3 separate regions of the Homo sapiens genome follow, and all the other regions are linked to region 1. Evidence: promoter capture Hi-C in 16 types of primary human blood cells and fetal thymus (Javierre and others, 2016). All regions are on one chromosome and are shown on one strand. The core of a region is centred on a gene start or on the middle of the fragment in contact, and the rest is flanking DNA. Distances in the headings are between cores, read along the strand shown.

What was found. Contacts are between HindIII fragments. The CHiCAGO score rates a contact against its expected background, and 5 or more counts as called.
Region 2: a contact is called between a fragment that was not itself captured here and the fragment with the promoter of PLSCR1 in region 1, in 6 of 17 cell types (naive B cells, total CD4 T cells, erythroblasts and 3 more). The highest score is 9.0, in naive B cells.
Region 3: a contact is called between a fragment that was not itself captured here and the fragment with the promoter of PLSCR1 in region 1, in 1 of 17 cell types (fetal thymus). The highest score is 5.6, in fetal thymus.

What each region holds. Positions count from the first base shown.
Region 1 is chr3:146,543,133-146,546,068 of GRCh38, reverse strand. It overlaps PLSCR1 (phospholipid scramblase 1), which reads left to right and starts at 1,462. Exons shown (of 9, transcript NM_021105.3): 1 at 1,462-1,602. RefSeq lists an enhancer at 1,133-1,612. The HindIII fragment of the contact is 8,607 bases long and covers 1-2,936 here.
Region 2 is chr3:146,242,166-146,245,101 of GRCh38, reverse strand. The region is part of intron 1 of PLSCR4 (phospholipid scramblase 4); the gene reads left to right. Among named protein-coding and RNA genes, the nearest start is that of PLSCR4, 7.5 kb to the left of the region's middle. The HindIII fragment of the contact is 2,371 bases long and covers 281-2,651 here.
Region 3 is chr3:146,259,524-146,262,459 of GRCh38, reverse strand. No RefSeq gene overlaps it. Among named protein-coding and RNA genes, the nearest start is that of PLSCR4, 9.9 kb to the right of the region's middle. The HindIII fragment of the contact is 516 bases long and covers 1,128-1,643 here.

The sequences.
Region 1 (2,936 bases), core at 213-2,712:
TGATCACCTATCTTAGCTTTCAAAAGAGTTCGAGCATTACTACCCAACCACAAAAGAACCCTGAACTGGGAATGAATGTATCCATGACCCATTTGTGAGTAAGTCAGGTGAATCGATTTTGTCCGTACTAGAAGAGGATCAATTGCTTGAGATCACAAATGATGGTGGCCTTAAAAGTATGTTTGAGACAGCTTCAAATCCCATGTTCTGGATTAAACTCAAGGTGGGATATCCTGAGATTGCCACAAAAGCACTGAAGAGTCTGCTTCCATTTCCAACATGCTATCTTTGTGAAGCAGGATTTTCTGCAGTGACAGCAACCAAAACAAGATTACGGAGTAGACTGGACATAAGCAACACACTTCTGGTGTCACTGTCTCCCACCGTTCCCAGATGGGACCTTCTAATTGCAGGAAAACAAGGTCAGGGCTCCCACTGATTCCACATTATGGTGAGTTGTATAATTATTTTATTATATATTACAATGTAATAATAATAGAAGTAAAGTGCGCAATACACGTAATGTGCTTGAATCATCCTGAAACCGTCTGCCACCCGGCCCTGGTCCATGGAAAAATCCTCTTCCGTGAAACTGGTCCCTGGTGCCAAAAAGGTTGGGGACCACTGGTTTATCCAGGGTCATCCAGGTTGGAGTGGGGTCAGGAGAAATGGGGAAATTTAGGTAAAAGTATACAAAGTTACAAACACGTAGGATGAACAAATGGGAAGACCTAATGTACAACATGAGGGCTATAGTTAATGATAGTGGTATTCAGGATTTATGCTAAATAAGTAGATTATAGCTGCTCTTGCCCCAAGGGGGGAAATGTGTAATTATAGGAGTTGATGGATATGTCATACAAATAACTTAAATACACAGAATAAAAACTATTTTAGTTTAAAAAGGAACAATATTTATAAAAAAATAAAGTGAGCTCGAAAACATTCAAATAACTGCTTAAAAATTAAAAAGTAATATCACATAATTTAATAGAAGGAAAGAAAGAGCAAGACAGCAAGAAAGAAAAGGCACCATAAAGAAAAACAATTTTGGCCCCTCCTCATTTGTAGTCTTAAGCTGCCTCTACTCCCTCGCCTTGAAAAGCCACGGGCTTCCGAGGGATGGAGGTCAAAGCCAGAGTAAAGAAAGTTCCCGGGGGAGGCCACTCCCCAGCTGATGACTTTCCAGTTCCAGTTAGTGTCGGAGTCCCAGTTCCTCTCCTTAACCACCGGACAAACGTCTCTGGAGTCTCTCCAATGAGCAAGAAAGCAAGTCGGGGGTAGGGGAGGGGCCTCACACCAGGGGGTGGGCGCAGTCCCTCCTCCAGCTCCTTCACCCTCCAGTAGTCTCGTGGGTCCCCGAGCGCCAGCGCGGGAACCGGGAAAAGGAAACCGTGTTGTGTACGTAAGATTCAGGAAACGAAACCAGGAGCCGCGGGTGTTGGCGCAAAGGTTACTCCCAGACCCTTTTCCGGCTGACTTCTGAGAAGGTTGCGCAGCAGCTGTGCCCGGCAGTCTAGAGGCGCAGAAGAGGAAGCCATCGCCTGGCCCCGGCTCTCTGGACCTTGTCTCGCTCGGGAGCGGAAACAGCGGCAGCCAGAGGTGCGCGGGCGGCTTTCTCTGCCGCCTCCTGGGGACTTGGGCGCGGGAACTGCGCGGAGCCTGCGCTGGGGCCAGGGCCGGGGTCAGGTGTGGAGGGCAACTTGTGGGGAACCGGCGCGAGGGCCCGCAGGTTGTGTTTGCTGCTCTGGGGGTGGAGGATGTGGGGTGAAGGTTGGGGCCAGAAATGCAAGAGGCCTCTGAAAGGGACCCTGGAAGTGGAGCAGGTACACGGCAAGGGGCCCCAGGCGGCCCAGCGGCACCCGGGCTCACCCCAGAACCATTCGAATGACAAGGGGTGCCCTGCCTGAAAACGCCTTGCGGGGCTCAGCTTCCCCTTAGCTACACTGCTTTACAGGTAGAGAGCGGCCCTGAATCCTGGGTAGAGTCTGGGCTCAGGAGCATGTGCCAGCGTAGTGGGGCTATTAGAAGGAATGGTTAATACAGCCTGCAAGCTGTCATTTATCAGTAAGTATTCAATGAAGTCCGCCGGAGCCCACATCTATGCTAGGCCCTCTACAATACCAGCTTAGGAAAGATAGTGGCGGTATCTAGCACGGTTCCTAAGACCATTAGCTCCAGTCAGGCTCCCCGACTTTAAATTCGGCCTCTACTGCTTCACGTCTGTGGACTGTCAGCCACTTTCTTCTTATATATGTTCTTTCCATTGCCTCATCTCTGAAATTGTGTAACTATTAAATGAGCTACAGAGTATTAATGTAAAATTCTTAGAGCAGTGCCTGGCGCTACAGAAAGTACTCAGTGAAAGTTAGCTCTTATTATTTTAAATATTTGACAAAGTTCCTGCTTCTCCAAGCTGATTCTCTGGTTCCCAGGTGGTTTCATTCATGCACTGTTATTCCTGGAAGTCTTGGCATGGCCACTTCCCAGTTCCAGGAACAGGCAGTCGTTGTTTTTTCTGGCTTATCACATTGAGATACATGGTTACTACAAGTGACACTTAAACGTGTCAGACAGTTTGGGGGCTCCCTTCTTGAACTTTTTCTAAGAGCAAACCTTTGTCTTAATGCCACCCTGTTTACAACAATAGTAGGGCTTTGAACAATGAGAAAATGCGGGGAAATGAAAAAGACATATAAAGGGAAAGAGTGGATTTATGCAATTGGATAGAAAAGTGGCATGTAAAATAGCTGGTTTATAGATCAAACTGCCTTTAGATCTGTAAAGGAGCTTAGAGTACATACAGGTGGAGAGACATCAGATGTGTGTGAGCAGACCCTTATGTACTTCTCCATCTTCATCTCTAAGAATGTCTCCCTCTTTTGCTCTGTAACCTCACTCGTCTTCCTTTACTTGAATGAGGGACGTTCCTCCAG
Region 2 (2,936 bases), core at 217-2,716, 300 kb after region 1:
TCTTAGTTCTCTTGCTATTCTCTCACATCTGCAGGTACTTCATCCAATGAAGTCTTGAACCACGCAAAATCATCCAGGAGGGTTGGAATCAACTTCTTCCAAGCTCCTGTTAATATTTATATTTTGACTTCCTCCCATGAATAACAAAAGTTCTTAGTGGTATCTAAAATGGTGAATCCTTTTTAGAAAGTTTTCAATTTACGTTGCCTAGATTCATCAGAGGAATCTAGGCCTAGCTTTTGGCCTGTCTTTGCTTTCAGCATGCCTTCCTCATTAAGCTTAATCTTTTCCAGCTTTTTGACTTAAAGTGAGAGATGCACGAACCTTCTTTTCACTTGAATATTTAGAGGCATTTGTAGGCTTATTAATTGGCCTAATTTCAATATTGTTTTGTCTCAGGGAATAGGGAGGTCCTAGAATAAGGGGAGAGATGGGAGAATAGTTGCTCTGTGGAGCAGTCACAACAACACTTACTAAGTTCACCATCTTATATAGGCATGGTTCATGGGGTCCCAAAACAATTATAATAGTAACATCAAAGATCACTGATCATAGATCACCATAACAGATTGTTATGAAAAAGTCTGAAATATTGTGAGAATTACCAAAATTTGACAAAGAGACAAACTGAGAAGTTGCTGTTCTGCAAAATGGCACTGATAGACTCCTTGATACAAGGATGCCACAAACCCTCAATTTGTTTAAAAAAATGGAGTATCTGTGAATCACAGTATAGCAAAGCACAGTAAAACAAGGCATGCATGTACATAATGAGGTATCTTGAGAATGGGACCCAAGTAAACATGAAATTCATGTTCCATTATGTTTTAAACATATAGCCTGAAGATAATTTTATACAATATTTTTGATAATGTTGTGTATGAAACGTTTACGTACGTTGAACCATCAGAAAGCAAAGGTATCAGTATCTCAATCACCCATGTGGACAATCTGTGGTTATTTGACGTCACCATCATTCCTGACTCTAAATTCATTATGCTACTGATAAGTAATCATTTTCTTACATTACTCACAAATAAGTGCTTAACAGTAAAAAATAGGATGTATCATTAGTACAGTGAAAAGAGAATGCGTTCAGGGTAACTAAGCAGCACAGTAGTATCTCCAGAATGCCTGTGTCGGAAAGCCACCAATAAGCAATGGCAGGCTTTCATTCTTTACCTACAATGCTGTATTTTGATTACAAGGTTATCATTCACTGAATTTTATTATTTTAAGTGAGAAGAAATATCAGAAGTAGCCAAGTGACCAGCAAGTGTTTTCTCTACAAATGAGGAAGCATTCTGATGGATGACTTTTCAGAATGTTTCCTCTGGAGTCCGCTGTCTCATTAACAATGGTTTTTGTCTTAGAAGTCTCTGTTGATTTTACAGACTGACACAATTTCTTATTCTGTGATGAATGAATGCTCTTAGAGTCCTTCAGTAAACCCATCACATATTTTCACCATGTCATCTATAGGCACTTTGCAGTTTTAACAGTGTCCTCATCATCTTTCACTTGTGACATCATGTTGGTGCTGAAAGTTTTGGATTTTTGAGCATTTCAGATTTTGGACTTTTGGATTAGGGTTGCTTAGTCTATACAGCATTTTATGTGCCCGAACTCTGCATGAATATTATAATCTTTTCTTAAAGTTAGAGATTGGTTCATCCTTTTTGTTCATTTCTTTGTTTTCAAGAATAAATGACAACACAGTTTTTGTTTTGCTTTCTATTTTTTTGTTTTTCAAGAGTTTTGGAGCATAGTCAGGATCATGATGATAAGAAAGAGATGTATATATGTAACAAACCTGCATGTTGTGCACATGTACCCTAAAACTTAAAGTATAATAAAAAAAAAGATGTATACAGTTGGTAGAGCATATTGTTAGCAGGAGTTTGAGAAGAGGGGTTTCAGTCAATTGAGAGATCCCCATGGAAGAAGCAGGATGAAATACAGATAACAGAACTAATTCTTACAAATTTTTTTTCTGAAAATGGTCCAAGTGTCAATTAGGAACTTTCCAGGTTTGATTTGAAACCCCCACCACAGAATTTGTTTTTCCTCCCTGAGAGATTGATGGGTTACTGTTTTGGGATTAAAGCCTTTGGGGGCTTTCTCTGGTGGAGAAATAGTTCAGACAAAAGGTAGTGGATCCATTAGATGGCTAATATAAAAGTGGACAATGTATTTTCCAGTTGCATGAGTGTTTACCATAAAGGCAGACATCTTGGGGCATAGGGTTCTTTATTTTGGGATCCTCTTGGGCCCTGTAGCCTTTACAACTGTAAAGACATAAACCTGTTTGCCTTTCGTAAGGAATTTTCCCACTGTAGCCATTCTAAGTTACTTTTGCTAAGGTTCTCCCATTCGTCTCGAAAAGCACAGGTTCTGGGTCTCTGGTTTTTATACATGAAGTTGGCTAGAATTCCAGAGGGCGAAGCTCTAGCAACCTTTGACCAGATAAACCCATGATTCTATGTCTTTTATTAACCTTTCCTACCTACTAACTGAGTTGAGTTTATGTCTGACCCAGTCAAATACCTGAGGCCTCCCTACTGGGCCCAGTCCTGTTGTTGGCATGACTTTGAAACCCAGTGTAGATCAAAAATGCTCAAACTCAGCTCAAATCAGAAGTTCATGAAGCTTAGATTCAAAAATCTCACCCATGACCCCAGTTGCTGCGAAAGAGCAGTGAGTACACTGGGCATGCTGGGTACCTTAACTTGGTCACTCAGTGCTCCTGGGATCACTGGAAGTTTGCTTCAAGATCTGACTTCTCATGTGAAACTCTTAAAAGAAAAACTTTAGGCAAATTCAGCAGAGTTTATCTGAGCGAAAAACGATTCATGAATCAGGCAGCCCTCAGAACCAGAAGAGTTTCAGAGAGCTCCACCGAGCAACATGGGCAGGCAGTATTCATAAACAGAGGA
Region 3 (2,936 bases), core at 136-2,635, 280 kb after region 1:
TGGTGAATTTATATAGATACAGATACAGATATATGTATATAGATAGATAGATATAGTATCTAGCATATCACTAGAACATGGAAAACAGGGAAGTGCTACATGGTGAAGCAAAAAAAAAAAATTAAGCAAATGCAAGAAAATTAGGGCTGTATGTTCTACAATACATATTAAGAGTTTTCTTGAAAACTGTAGGCTTTAAAATGAAAAATCTTCCCTGAAAAATGAAAGACTTTAACCTGGAAGTGACATTATCAGCTTTGTATTTCAGAAGTCTTGAGCAATTTTGTAGAAAAAATAGACTCTTTTCATTACATGTTTAAGACTTTAGTAAATTTTTTAACATTCATTATTTTAAATCACTGACACATACTTGAATAACTCACATTCCTAAATATATACATAAAATGTCAGTAGATCTGATTCAGCCAAAATTCTTTAAATCAGCAAATAATTCACTTTGCATATAGACACTATACAAAAAGAATTTGTTATTTATCGACATTTAAGGACAATGGCAAACTTGTGTGTCTTTAATCACAACTTAAACATTCACACTATTGAATTAAATGCCCTGATGTTATAATAATTATGCAGATTGTGACATACGAGGCTGCCGTGTACAAAATTTGAATTTAAAATACTCTTTTCATCGATATATAGTTAAATTACTTGCCTGACTTCAAGAAATATTTCCTTTTTCTCATTTTTGCTTTTGGGAATGCCAGCCTCAAAAATTTTCTAGTTCCTCAAATTTTTGTTGAACTGCATTAACCATTTTAGGATTTTGTAAAAATATATAAATACGTAATGATCACATGGCCTAGCCATTAGTAAAGTATAAATACTCTAAATTTAAAATAGTTTTAGACATTTCACAGATATATTTGTATTAATCTGTCTGAAGTATACCTAAGATAAAATATTGTTAAATTAAAAAGTAAGATTTAAATATATCTCTATGAATAGACAGAAAAGTTGGTTAATATGCTTTGTGAAAGGAAAAAAGAGATACCCTATAATTAAATTTCAAGGAACAGAGCACGCTTTTGAAAAAGATTGTTTTACTGTCTCTTTCTACATTGAATTGAATATCATAACATTTTAAACAAAGTTTATGACAGTAAGCTTTAGATTCAATACAGACTTTGGTTCAGATCTCAGCTCCATCACTTGTTGGGTCAAGTTACTTATCCTCTCAAGCCACAGTTTTCTCATTTTTTTCCTCTTTCCACTACTGCCACACCCCAGATAACCCATATTTATAAAAGTAGTTTGTTCTTCCATTTTTCCCCATGCTTATGTAATCACATGTAAGCATATCTAGTGTATGCATACATATAAGCATGGCGTATATATCTATATGTAAGTATATATAAAGTTTTTTCCAACAAAATTTAACCATTGTGTTTTTAGAGCAATTTTACTTCAGAAAGATTTAAGATCCTTTTCCATTTGTAAGCAATCATTTCTAAATATGCTTCTCGATGTATTTAAATGATAATTGATAGAAGTTCCGTATGTTCCCCCAAATACTTCAGTTGCTCTTTTACATTCTTTATTCTTGTGTTCTTGGAGATGCAACTCACTTTCTACTCCATGTATCAAGGTCAATTTGACCCAGATAGCATAAATGAGTTCAAGCTTTTAAAATCATATCAACTATAGCCATGGGGACAAAAATCATGAAAATATTGTATTGAAATCACTCTCAATTTTCTTTTCAACATCACAGAATGTGTGAAGATTCAGAAAACTAGTAAAAAGCGAATTGTGTCCCAATTTTCAAGAAAAGAAAATATTGACTTGTAGAAATTACACACAGAAACACTCACACATTTTGTAATAGTTTCCTAGTATTGCCTTAAAAAATTACCACACACGAGATCATTTAAAACAACGGAATTTTATTTTCTCTCAGTTGTGAAGGCCAGAAAACTGAAAATATATATATATATGTTGGTAGGGTTATTTCCTTCTTGCAGACTCAGAAAGAATTTGTTTCATGCCTCTCTCTTAGACTCTAGTGGTTGCTGGCAATCCTTGGTGCTCCTTATCTAGACGCATCACTCTAATCTCTGTCTTTATTGTCACATGGGTTCTCTCTGTGTGTCTGTCTCTGTATCCAAATTTCTCTCTTCTTATAAGGCCACAGTTATTGGATTAGGGTGCACCCTAATACGGTATTGGTTTTCTTTTATTTTGATTACATCTATACAGACAATTTCTAAATAAAATCATATCAAAATATCTTTTTGGGGGACACAACTCAACTAACAACGCATTGTAATGTCAGTTTCAGGCAAATTTATAGTACAGAAGTTGTAAATAATAGCATTTGAGCATTTAACAAAGGCAGTATTGTGTTCTCAATCAAATCTTATAAAATGGACTCATTTCCCCTTCCCTCCTGACTGGTGGAGTAGAGAGATCATGAGCATGTCATAATAAACACTGTTTTTAACACATTAAGCAGAGATTTTAATATTCATTGCTGTGAGCAAGACATTTTAAAATGTGGATTATGTAAAAGGAAAGTCTAAATGGATTTTTAGCTGGTTGAACAATTACAGAAGGTATTGATTACTGAATTTCTGTCATCCTAGAGGTTAATCTCAGAAATGACCTATTAGATTCTTTATCTAACCCAACATTTGTTTCAGTGACATAAATTTAGACATAAAGAAAAAGATTATCAAATTCCATGTGACAAAATCTAAGAAAATGGCTAACATGATAGGTAAACATAATACAGATTCAATTATTAACCTTAATATGCTACATCTGATTTTAGTCACAAGGCTGAGAAGCCAAATGGGCTTAATAAGGAAGATAAAATTATATAGGCACAGTGTGAGTTTCTATTTCTAAAATCAAAAATCAGCTGTCCACACAATAACCATATCTGCAGTTTTAAAAAGCTGGTTAGATGAGAGCCT